Linked DNA regions of Homo sapiens: all the other regions are linked to region 1. Evidence: promoter capture Hi-C in 16 types of primary human blood cells and fetal thymus (Javierre and others, 2016). All regions are on one chromosome and are shown on one strand. The core of a region is centred on a gene start or on the middle of the fragment in contact, and the rest is flanking DNA. Distances in the headings are between cores, read along the strand shown. Region 1 holds the start of KBTBD3 (kelch repeat and BTB domain containing 3). Region 2 overlaps CARD16 (caspase recruitment domain family member 16). Region 3 overlaps LOC107984381 (a long non-coding RNA gene).

What was found. The method cuts DNA at HindIII sites, captures the fragments that hold promoters and counts their contacts. A CHiCAGO score of 5 or more calls a contact.
Region 2: a fragment that was not itself captured here is called in contact with the fragment with the promoter of KBTBD3 in region 1 in 1 of 17 cell types (total CD8 T cells); the score reaches 5.3 in total CD8 T cells.
Region 3: a fragment that was not itself captured here is called in contact with the fragment with the promoter of KBTBD3 in region 1 in 1 of 17 cell types (total B cells); the score reaches 6.0 in total B cells.

Annotation. Positions count from the first base shown.
Region 1 is chr11:106,075,174-106,078,948 of GRCh38, reverse strand. It overlaps KBTBD3 (kelch repeat and BTB domain containing 3), which reads left to right and starts at 1,602. Exons shown (of 4, transcript NM_198439.3): 1 at 1,602-1,637; 2 at 2,242-2,442. AASDHPPT (aminoadipate-semialdehyde dehydrogenase-phosphopantetheinyl transferase) reads right to left here and starts at 1,287. Exons shown (of 6, transcript NM_015423.3): 1 at 1,056-1,287. The coding sequence starts at 1,238. RefSeq lists enhancers at 1,020-1,259, 1,570-1,679, 1,690-1,809. The HindIII fragment of the contact is 8,387 bases long and covers 1-3,775 here.
Region 2 is chr11:105,039,921-105,043,695 of GRCh38, reverse strand. It overlaps CARD16 (caspase recruitment domain family member 16), which reads left to right. Exons shown (of 4, transcript NM_052889.4): 3 at 151-213; 4 at 1,977-2,133. The coding sequence ends at 170. Among named protein-coding and RNA genes, the nearest start is that of CARD16, 3.5 kb to the left of the region's middle. The HindIII fragment of the contact is 323 bases long and covers 1,721-2,043 here.
Region 3 is chr11:105,057,313-105,061,087 of GRCh38, reverse strand. It overlaps LOC107984381 (a long non-coding RNA gene), which reads right to left. Exons shown (of 3, transcript XR_001748352.2): 2 at 2,675-2,728. Among named protein-coding and RNA genes, the nearest start is that of CARD16, 14 kb to the right of the region's middle. The HindIII fragment of the contact is 4,901 bases long and covers 1-3,775 here.

The DNA.
Region 1 (3,775 bases), core at 353-2,852:
TACATCTGTGCATATGTATTTCTAGATCCCATATATTGATCACCCAGCTTCAACAATTAGCAAGGCATGACCTATCTTGTTCTGCTCTCTCCCACCTCCAATTATTATTTTTTAAATAATTACTAAAAACACACACACAAAAAAACAAGAATATAAGATGACAAAGTATATATTTTTAAAAATATCTTTCAGGTTTTTTTCTTCTTCAATTCTAACACTGACTTTTAAAAACTGCAGGCTTTTAAATGTAGCTTATTTTACAATTCCTTACAAATGAGTAAAAAATTTTCACCAATGTGCCTTAAAAATTATCAACTAGTCTACATTTCAAACAGAAAGTGTTTCAATATGGGACATTTTTAAGAAAGGACTGTCTTTTAAATGATGGTAATTCACGGTTGTTTCAAATTGCACCATATTGTACAGATTACTTGTTTTGAAATCCAGTTTTCCATTTGTTGCTTCAAAATACATAGCTAAAATAAATAAATCTACGTAAAATACTGTTTCCCATGGCATCTAGTGAGGAAGGTATCCTCTCTGGCTTCAATTTCATTGGCTTCAATCCCGGGGAGCGCAGGGCTACAAACTAAATCATACTGTCAATAATTTCTAGGGCCTACCACGTGCAGGGAGTCCTTGGAGAATGATGGGATATTTAACAGGCAGAATAAGCATAGGCTATGAACGCACACAAACAAAAAAAAATAACATTTAAAGATAAAGACATAAAAACATTCATTACAGAAAAACCCAATTTTGTCGGCCTTCCCTACACTTATTTCATGGTTTAGGAGGGTCTCCATTTGAAATAACAAGGGGAAAGAGATAATGTTTACAGCCATCGCGGCCTCCAAGGCGGTTACAAAGGCCGTGGAAACCAGGCCGTGCGTCGCCCACAACTCCGCAGCGCCGGCTGCTGTCGCCCGGGCCGGCCACAGGCTCCACAGCGAGAGGGTCGCGGCCAGCGCGGGAGTGTCGGGTCTCCACAGCCCGGCCCGCCTCCCCCAAGATCTGCTTCCTAGGCTCTAAATACCAAAAAAGACCTGTAGTACCATGGCTGCCTTAGCGTCCCGGGCAAAGACGAACTGGCCAATGCGCTCCTTCTCCTCGGGCTGAATCGATCGCACTGCCAGCAGCCATTCGGCTCGGCTCGGCAGCCAAGTGCCGCAGGAAAAGGCCCAGCGCACGCCCTCCATGGATGGCACCAAGCAGAACCGTTTGGCAGGGAAAACCATACACTGAAAGCGGACCTCGCCGCTATCTCGGGCCTGATGGCGCGGACGCAAACGTGGCCCCACCCCCTTCTTCCCGGCGTCCGTGCGCAGGGGACGGGCCGTCGCTACGCAGACTGGCCCACCGACAGCCCTCCCAGCCCGCCCCCGACTCAGCCACCTCCTCTCGGAGAAAGCAGCTGGGGGCGGAGACGGAGATCAGCCCTGCGCTTTGCGGCATTGTATGACGTCAAGTAGGCGAGGCTTCGGAGGCGAGCGAAGGGCGGGACCAAGGCCAAGAGCCCGACAGTTACGCCACTCACACTTGCGGAAGAGTTAACGGGACAGCGGTGCAGGCCAATCGCAACCAGTCCTCTGGAGGCAGGGAGACTGGGGTGGAGACTTCGGAGACTGCAGTTGCAGGTGGGTGAGCTCCGGGGTCTGAGGGAGGAGTGGGATGGTAGCCCTTATTCTCAGGGTCTGAGTTGGCCCCTGTGACCCACAGAGAAGAGAATGTCCTTGGCTTCAGCTGCTTCGTGTACGGGGCACGAGAGGTTTCCATCTCTAGGAGGGGGTCTGCAGTGGTGCCCCCTGCAGTTGTGCAACGCATCAGCCCTGAGTTCCTTCTTTCCCTGCCCCCATCCGCATCAGCCTAAGACCCACCCTCACACAGTACGCTCCCGACCCTTAGCAGCAGCCTACCTGAAACCCTCCCTCCGAAGGCCGAGCAGAGGCACTATCCCCAGTGCGCAACACTGACCCCGCCTGGATCCGAGGCTGCCAGCGAGCAGCTGAGCTAATGCTGGCTGTTTATTTGGGGCGATGAAGCGACCCAGGTGCTGTTTTGCTATTGCCAAGCCTGGGCTAGAGCACTAGCGAGAAAACAGGATTCCATTGTTGAGGTATCAGTGTTTCCATCATGACAGAGGTCCTTGCTCTAACAGCAACAGAAACAAGTAAATAACTTTGCTCAGTTATTTTCTCAGACTTTGCGAAGGGTCATATTGATGTATGTCTGTTTCCTTAGTTGTTCCGTGTAGGCTGTTGTTGACTCTCGTATGAAAGCCCACGCGATCCAAGTGCCCTGCAGGTTTTGGTCCAGGGAAAAGTTGGTCTCTGCAGATGACTGTAAATGACTACCTGGAGGTCGATTAAAGTGCGGTACTGCGGGATTCAGCCGATTTCCTTCTTCCTCTGACTGCCCGGAAATATCAGCCAAAGGCCAGCGGTAGTAATTAACACAATTACCTGCCTATGATTTCTGTCCTATTTAAGATGGGTTCTATTATGTTTTTATCTATACTTGTCTTCATTAACTTTTCGTGATATCATAAGCCCCCCGAATCCCTCGAAAGTAGATGGGATTCTGAGCACACACACACACAAATTCAGATCCCCAAAGGACAGTAAAACGAATTATTGGCTTAATATATCATCTTAGCTAACCAAAAGCCTGTGTCAGCTGCCATGTTGAAAATCTGCTTACCAGCTGCAGGGAGCTTACAATCTGGTAAGGCAAATAAATCATACGCATAAAAAGTACAATAAGAGACAGTGTAAAGATACGTAAGTGATACTAATACCCATATCAGCAATGATCATAACTCACTTCTCCATTTTTAACTAAGAATCATATAACCTTTCCTTCTTGTCGTTTTAAACTGATTTTTATAACTTTGATACATTACGTTTCTGTTTCCAAAACACTTCTGTGTACGTTATTGCACATGTTCTGTGCACTAGTTATTACTGATGGAGACAATGAGCTCAGAAAGAGAATTTGTTTAAATTCAGGAATTCATATCCCATTATTTTACCATCGAGCAAGATCTCTGTGTATTAGATCTATGGAGCCTAATACACAGACAGTAACGTAGGGATTATTTGTACTTGGTCTAGAATCTAGAATATTCTCCCCTTCTCCCATTATCACATTCCTTGTTTCCTCTGTATCATTCAGGCCCAAATCTCATACCAAACAGAATGTCTCTGTTCACCTAGTCTAAAATAGCTTACTCTCTCCACTTCCAAACCTCAGCCCCAAACCTATCACCCTGTGAACATATTTTATAGGTTTGTTTAATCCCCTTCCCTGTGTGGTTTTACAAATTCTCCAGAGCTTAGCTTAAACCTTCTCTTAGGGCCTACTTCAGAGTACCTTTTTCCAAAACAGTATTGTTTATGTAATTCATTTGGCAGTTATTCTAGTATTGCCTTATGACGTCTCTCCTATTGTCCTGAATTATTTTCATGTGTGTTATCTTGCAAAATAGAATGTACAGTACTTGAGAGGGAATGTCATGTATACCTTTTACAAATAGTATACATGAGTAAATGTTATTAATGACTCCACAATAGATTTATTACTGTCAAGGGTAACACTGCTTTTTATATTCTATCTGCCTTTACTTCCCTCACTTTTATTAAGGAAATATAAATATGCAGTTCATAACTTGCTTAACTATATTAAATGAACCCAACAATTTTATTAAAATATTTTTTACTGCATTGGTCAGGGGAAGAAGAGGACTAAAGTAATAGGGGCTCACTCAGTCTGTAAT
Region 2 (3,775 bases), core at 633-3,132, 1.0 Mb after region 1:
AGGATGGGAGTTTTGGTGCACTTGAACATTATTTATTGTCATTTAGTCAGGGTTGTGGGAGGAATTTGCAGTGAGGAGTGGCTTATGCATTGCTGTAAAGTTTTCCAGAGATGATAAGTGGCTATTTCAATGTTCTTCATCTTTTTATAGGTCCGATACCTGGAAATTAGCTTAGTACACAAGACTCCCAATTACTATTTTCTTCCTTCCCAGGTAATGTTGTTTTTCAATGAAGAGCATTCTTTGAACCCCATCTTCTTTAACATTAATTTAGTGGAATGAGCTCTGCTTGAAGGGGCTATGGAGAATTCCCATAGACTGATCATATAATTTTCTTTTTTAATCTATTCTGTTTTTGCAGAAACTGTTCCCAAAGCTTTACTACTCTTATTTATACTAACAAAATCTGAATTTGTATCTCAAATTCTGATTACCCAAATAAGTACCAAACTTCATCATTTAAGACTACTGAAATATTCCCTCACATCTTCCAGAGACACATTTATGTAAACAATTTCAGAGCTGAACATGCCATTCTTCCCCACCCTGCTTCTCTTACAGTTTTGTGTAACTTGGTTTTTGATGCCACCATCACCAGTTGTTCAATCCAGGAACTTGAAACTCATCTTGGCCCCCTTCCTCTCATGCACCTCCAATATTCAAGCCATGGCCAAGTTTTATGCATTCTTCTCTCAAATTTGGAAATGTCTCTTCATTCTTACTTCTATTATTTTATTAAAGAACTCTTATTCCTTAAGTGCCCCCCTTAAAATAAAAGAAACTTATATTTGAAAGCAATTTAGAGGCTAGAAATGCATGTTTTTATCAAGTTCAGATATTACTCTACTGAATTTATTAAGGATGATTACCTCATGAATGTTTTCTTAAATGTTTCACAGCATGGGATACTCACTATATAACCAAATACTGTATTCTCAAAAATAACTCAAATGCTTTTCTTTAGTTTTTCTCTATTGCTTTCACAAATCCTTACAAAGAAACCAAACATTTCTTCTACTAAATTATTATTTTATAGTTTTCTCCAATATAATCATTCTAATTAGTTCTTCTCCATGTCAACACACTTCATGCTGCCTTTGTTTATCTGATTGTATAGCAGTTTTTCAAATTTGTTTGCAAAATTAAATATTATTATTTTGCCTTAATAGTTTCTAAAAGATCCTCTGGATATCTAGAAACCTCAGTTCTATCTTGAAACAAACATCACATTAATTTTTTAACAAGTGCATCACATTGTCAGATTGTGTTGATCTTGTGATGAAATAAAAGCCTCAAAGATTTTCTCACATAAACTCTGTGAAAACATTTCCTCATATGTTCGTGAAAGCAATGTTTAGTGCTATGAATCCATCTAGAGCACACCATGATTTTAGCATTCATCGTTCTATTTTATATTTATTCTAGTTTACGTATTCAATATTCTTGTCCTCCCATATGTATACATTGTAGGAGGAGATGCTGAAGGACAGGAAAAGGGATCATTAAAAAAATATTCCCAGTGTTTACTACCATGTCTATTAGGTAAATAAATAAAAGGATAAACACATATTTTAAAAATTAATTAGTGTTAATTAAGACCTGCTCCCATTAAATTTTATCCTAGGGTTTGAATCCTTTGAAAACAAATCATATTTTAACTATTTTATATCACTCATTGACTGTTTCCTGAGTGTTTTATCATGCATGGCCTTGAAAAGCTTCCTCTCTGTTTTTATCTAAGATGCTTGTAGAAATACTTATGCTCAAATATGAAAGTAGATCCTCCCTGTAATGCATACCTAGAAATCTCTGGCTTGAAATGTGCTCCATTAGCAGCAAACGCACTCAACTATGTTAATGACTAGATTAGGATTGTCCTCTAGGAATGTATTTCCTCTTTTGTAGCTTCCTCCATAGGTGAGGCTATAAGAACAAAGAGGGATACCACTGTTCATGATATTCCTTGTCTCTTGCAGCTCTTCAGGCAGTGCAGGACAACCCAGCTATGCCCACATGCTCAAGCCCAGAAGGCAGAATCAAGCTTTGCTTTCTAGAAGACGCTCAAAGGATATGGAAACAAAAGTTGCAGAGGTGCCATGTTCAGAATACAATAATAAAGTGGAGTGAAAGATATACTTCAGGCAGTTTTGAAATGCAGTGGCTTTTTCTTAGAACCAATTTTATTGAGCGGTTCTGGAGGAACATACTTCTGCTCCCCTTGCATAAAGGATCTCTATATCCTAGAATCCCAGGTTTAGGTAAAGAGTTGCAAACTGGAACTCATAAATTATCATAGTCTTCACCCAGTCTGTCTCTTAGAATTTATTTCCCACTGACACAAACAAGCCATTTTGTCTGCTTGTATAACCCAGATTTTCCAGTGTAGTGCCCAGTTGGAAAAAAGCACATCCCATTGAGCAAGTATTGAAGTGGACTCTTGCTTCTCACCCAATTCTCCAACTTGTGTTTACCAAGAATTGGAGTCAGTTTTTTACCTGTTGTTCCTATTCATAAAATGAAATTAATGTTTATTTAACATATTGAAATGAAGCATATGAATAATTTAGAAGCACTTTACCAAAAAGTACATTTTAACATTACCTTGCTTCTGGGCTATAGCTTATGACTACTATAAATGAGAGGTATAGTGGCATGCTCTCTACACCAGGCATTGCATCTTAGAAGGTAAGAATGATAATGAGGCCCCTCCTATACATGAGAACACGGAGGATGGGAGATGTTAAATAACTTGGTTAAGATCTACAGCTCATAAATAGAAGTTGACCCTAGGGCTATTAGATGCCAAAGTCCACACTGATAAACCGGGCAGAAAGAAAGAGGCTTTTAGACAAAGAAAAAATAAAATAACATGTAATAGTTGATTAGTGCTCTAAGTTGTATTACACAAAATGTGCTGATAGTCCAAAAATATAACTAAGAAGAGTTGGATAAACTGAAAGTGTCCATGAACTTCTAAGGCTTGGAAATGGGATGGCCAAAACCCAAGCACAGAATTGTCTGCCTTCTATGTCAGAGATTTTTACAGTACCTACTCTGTCATTTAAAATTATATTGTTTCCCAGACTTCACACTGACAGGATTTTATAACATTATGCACATTTAAAATATTACTTATAATAGAATTGTTACATTCATTTATTTTGAGATGATTTTACCTTTGTAATTCTATTTTCCAAGTACACATTTAAGTCAACAATTTGGTTCCTATAAATTATATCCACTCTGTCTACAATTCCCCATCCAACTTGGGTGGTTGGTAATTACAACTCAGTCACTATAAGAACAACTTCCTCTTACCAAAATTTTTACAAATTTGTGGAGTGTGTCCAGCCAGAAATCAACAAAAAAATATATATTATTACAACCACTGACCATTTTCGCTTCAAAATTTTAATGTTATTTTTGTATAATTTACGTCAAAGAAAATGTACTCCTTTTAAGAATACAAGTTGATAACTAATGATACATGGCTATTCTAGTATAATAACATCCTAGTGAATAGGCAAACCGATTTTGTCACCCCAGAAAGTTTTGTCACGCCCATTGTTATCAATCTCCTTCCACTTCCTCCTCAGATAAGTAGTCATCGAATTTCTATCACTGTACGTTAGTTTTTCCTAATCTAGAACTTTATATAATTGGAATCACAGGGTATGTGTTCCTTCCTATATGGCTTCTTTCACTCATAATTGAAACATATTTTTTTCATCCATGTTATTGCATATATTAGTAATTTTTCCCTTTCATGACTGAA
Region 3 (3,775 bases), core at 572-3,071, 1.0 Mb after region 1:
CTAAGCAAATTAATACAGAAACAGAAAACTAAGTACCACATGATCTGACTTATAAGTGATAGCTAAATAGTAGGCACTCATGGACATAAAGATGGAAATAATAGACACAGGGAGCAACTAGAGGAAGGAGTGAAGGAGGAGGGCAAGAGCTGAAAAACTATATACTGGGTGCTACTCTCACTACCTAGGTGATGGGTTAAATCATACCCCAAACTTCAGCATCACATAATATACCTTTTTAACAAACCTGCGTGTGTATCCCTGAATCTAAAAAAACAATTGAAATGAAAACAAAAAGTGAAATGTAAACTATTTGGTTAATTATTACGGGAAAATGCAAGGAGACTAGTTAAATTTTACTCATTCAGGACATGTATTTTAGATTAGCTGAGGTAGAAAAACTGACAGATCAGAAGAAAGGATGAACAGAAGGAGGTGTGGGGGCCATGGTATTCTTCATGACAATTTGAATAACTTGTGAAGAAAAAAAGTTCTGATATTGAAGAGAAAGGAAAAGAAAAAATATTATGCCGAAATTGAAGACAAAGCCCTCATCTTGCTAGACAATGTGCTAAAGAACCCTGTGGCTGGACAAAAGTCTATCGAGACCCTACTTAATACGTACCAAAAGTCCACCAGTATGAAAGGTAAGATTGGTATTTTACAATGGATATCTCCATTTTTTTAGACTCTATTCAACTCCAAGGCCCATGCAGTGTCTTCTGTGATCTCTCTATCCTTCCTTTACAAATCTGTCATTTTCATTAAACCTGTGATTGTTCTTTAAGGGACTACCTTGCCTTTTGTGGGGTGGGATCCAGTTTCCAACTGGCTAAAAGGCTGAGTCCTCAGGTTCAGACTGTTCATAGAAATAATTAATAGTAGATGCTTTGTAGTAAGAGATACTCAAATCTAAACCTAGATTCTGTCAGTAAAGTATATGTCTTCCTGCATGTATCTTAAACGCTGTAGCTGACTAATCATCAGTCTTACCACATATAAAGCAGGGACAATTCCAGTCCTTTTTCATAAGACTATGTAAAGCTAGAGGCAATATAATGCCAGGCATCACATACCAACAACTTCCAAGATATTAGGCCTCATCCAGAACTCTCTCCTTGGAGCTCCAGATTCATTTAGCTGTAGCAGCATATTCAACAATTCCACTAGAGTGTTTCACTGGCATCACAAAATGAATACAGCTGAAATTAACCATTTTGTTTTCCAGAACAAACCTGTTCCACTTTTAACCCTTTTCCATTTAAGTAAAAAGAGCTAAAATATACTAAGTTTCTGCCACCAGAATGTAACTAGTTTCTTCAATAATTAATAGGAGTAAGTACTAGAGATCCTGGCACATAGCAGATACGTAATTAATATGTGATGAATAAACAGATGAAGTGTATGCATGCAATAAAGAGTAGTTTTCCTAATTATTATTAGGATGCTACAAATTGGAATTTTTCAGTGTTTACTCATTTCTGTGAATTAAAAAAATATGATTGGGGAACTCCTATAAAATGTTTAAATTTTATAACTTTTTAAAACTTTTGACTGTAAGATTATATTATGAGTATTATTAGAGTTTAAATATTCTCAGATCCATGTTTTTCAGGGATAGACAAAATTTTCCATAGAATTACACTGAAATCTGCAGCCCTGAACTACTAGAGTTTACCAATAATTATATATTATTTATCACGTACAATTCTCATATATAATGAGCACTAAATTCCAAAATGAAATAACCTTTCTGATCAGCAGAGGTTGTGGCAGGAAGGAGGTAGCTGCAGATACCTGCAGCAGGGGTCCAGTGGCTCCCTGCACTCTATCTGCATTTGGATTCTCCAGAGTGATGGATCCCAGGACGTTTTAGGGTCACTAGCCCAGCAGACCAGGAAGCAGGTTAACAAGGCTATTAGAAGAGGTCTAGGCCTTGGCCAGGCCTTTGGATATGGTTATAATTCTGAGGTTTTCCAGCAGAGCATTGGATTCTGAAGTTCAGGATAAGAAGAATCCTAGCTATTTGTTTGTTTCATTTAACAAACCAACATATATATATATATAAAATATTATATATAATATAATATATAGATACACACATAATATACATATATTATGCAGTATATAGAAATCACAGTTCCAAGACTGTGATTTAGTCAGAGACATAGCCATGTAAACCCCTACATGCCATGGCAATTGTTTGTCTGACCCTATACCACTCCCTCTCTTTTTGTCTCAATGTAAAGAGATTCCAGGGGAGATTCCTGAGAGAGTCCTATTTCATTACATAACAGATAAGACTCAAATTGAAATGCTTATCTAAACTCCTGATTTCCACATTTCTTTCTGTTGTACTGCTAGGCTAATAGAAACTCTCTTTGGGCAGCAATCTGCACTATAATATTTATAATATTGTAATAAAATAACCATTTTCATGCTAACTTTACTATAGGATATGAGAGAAATTTTGTCTAATTTTTATTTTACCTAAAATCACTTTATATATATATAGATAGATAGATAGATATACAGATGCATATATAGATGCATCTATATCTATGTCTCTATCTCTCTATCTATCTATCTATCTATCTATCTAGATGCATAAAGGTCATTAAAAGATGACTATTAACTTAGGAAATTCTCCAAACCTGTAAACAGGAAAACATACCCCCAGACCTGGAATATATCAGGACCCTGGATGTCTTCACATTGGCAGAACTTTCTGAAATGAGAAGGAGGAACATATGTCACTGTTTAATCTATGAAGAAATATATGCTTAGAAGGTTTGGTTTCCTTACATACTCTTAAAACTTGTTGCATCCCCAGAGATCAGGTTTTTATCATACACTTTAGCAAGATATTTATTCTAAAATATCATTAAAAACGAATGGAAACAAATGATTGAAATAGAAAAAATACATGAAATATAACAAAACAATATAAATTGTAGACAGGATAATAGTACTTTACTCATAGTTCCTATGTCTTGATTGGGTCATGTAACCAAACATAAATACTATGCCTGTCCATTCTTTTCATGAAAAGAAACCTTGTTATTATATCTTAGTAAACTTTTCTTCTAATTTGTATGCATGAATTCTTTTTTCTTTTCCAGAAGGAAGGCTCAAGAATCTCCCAGTTTCTTGCACAATATCAGTCAAAAGAGATGAATATTATATTTCACAAGGGGATAGATCAGAATGACTATTACAAACTTATCCAAAAGAGATATATTATTTCCTCACATTATAAAACACAAGGTAAAAAACTTAGTGTTGGTTGTTCAGCACTTTGGAGGCAAGACGTCCACATTTACGTCAGAATCTCGTACAAATATTTGTCCCTTTGACCTTGGACACAGTACTATTGTCACTAGACAACATTTCTTCTTTGAATAGCTGATTTCAAAATTTGTTAAAAGATATCTGAAACCCGTTTCTTCTAGAAAAGTTGGTCATTCACTTAAAGTTTGCTTTTAAAATACCAGGATGGTACAGAAATCAATATTCTGTTAAGTGTTTGCTGTATATATGTATCTGTGTGTGGTGTGGACTAGGAGGGAACTATTACTCCAAAATGGAATGTTGTCTCATCCAGTTTTGTAGCCACATGTACCTATTAAGTACTTAACTTGTGGCTAGTGGCACATGTTGATAGAGTAATGTTTTGTATAAATTATAATAAATATATTATTGAAATTAATTATACCTTTTGTAAATGTGATATTACAAAATTTAATATTGCATGTGGAACTCACATTGTATTTCA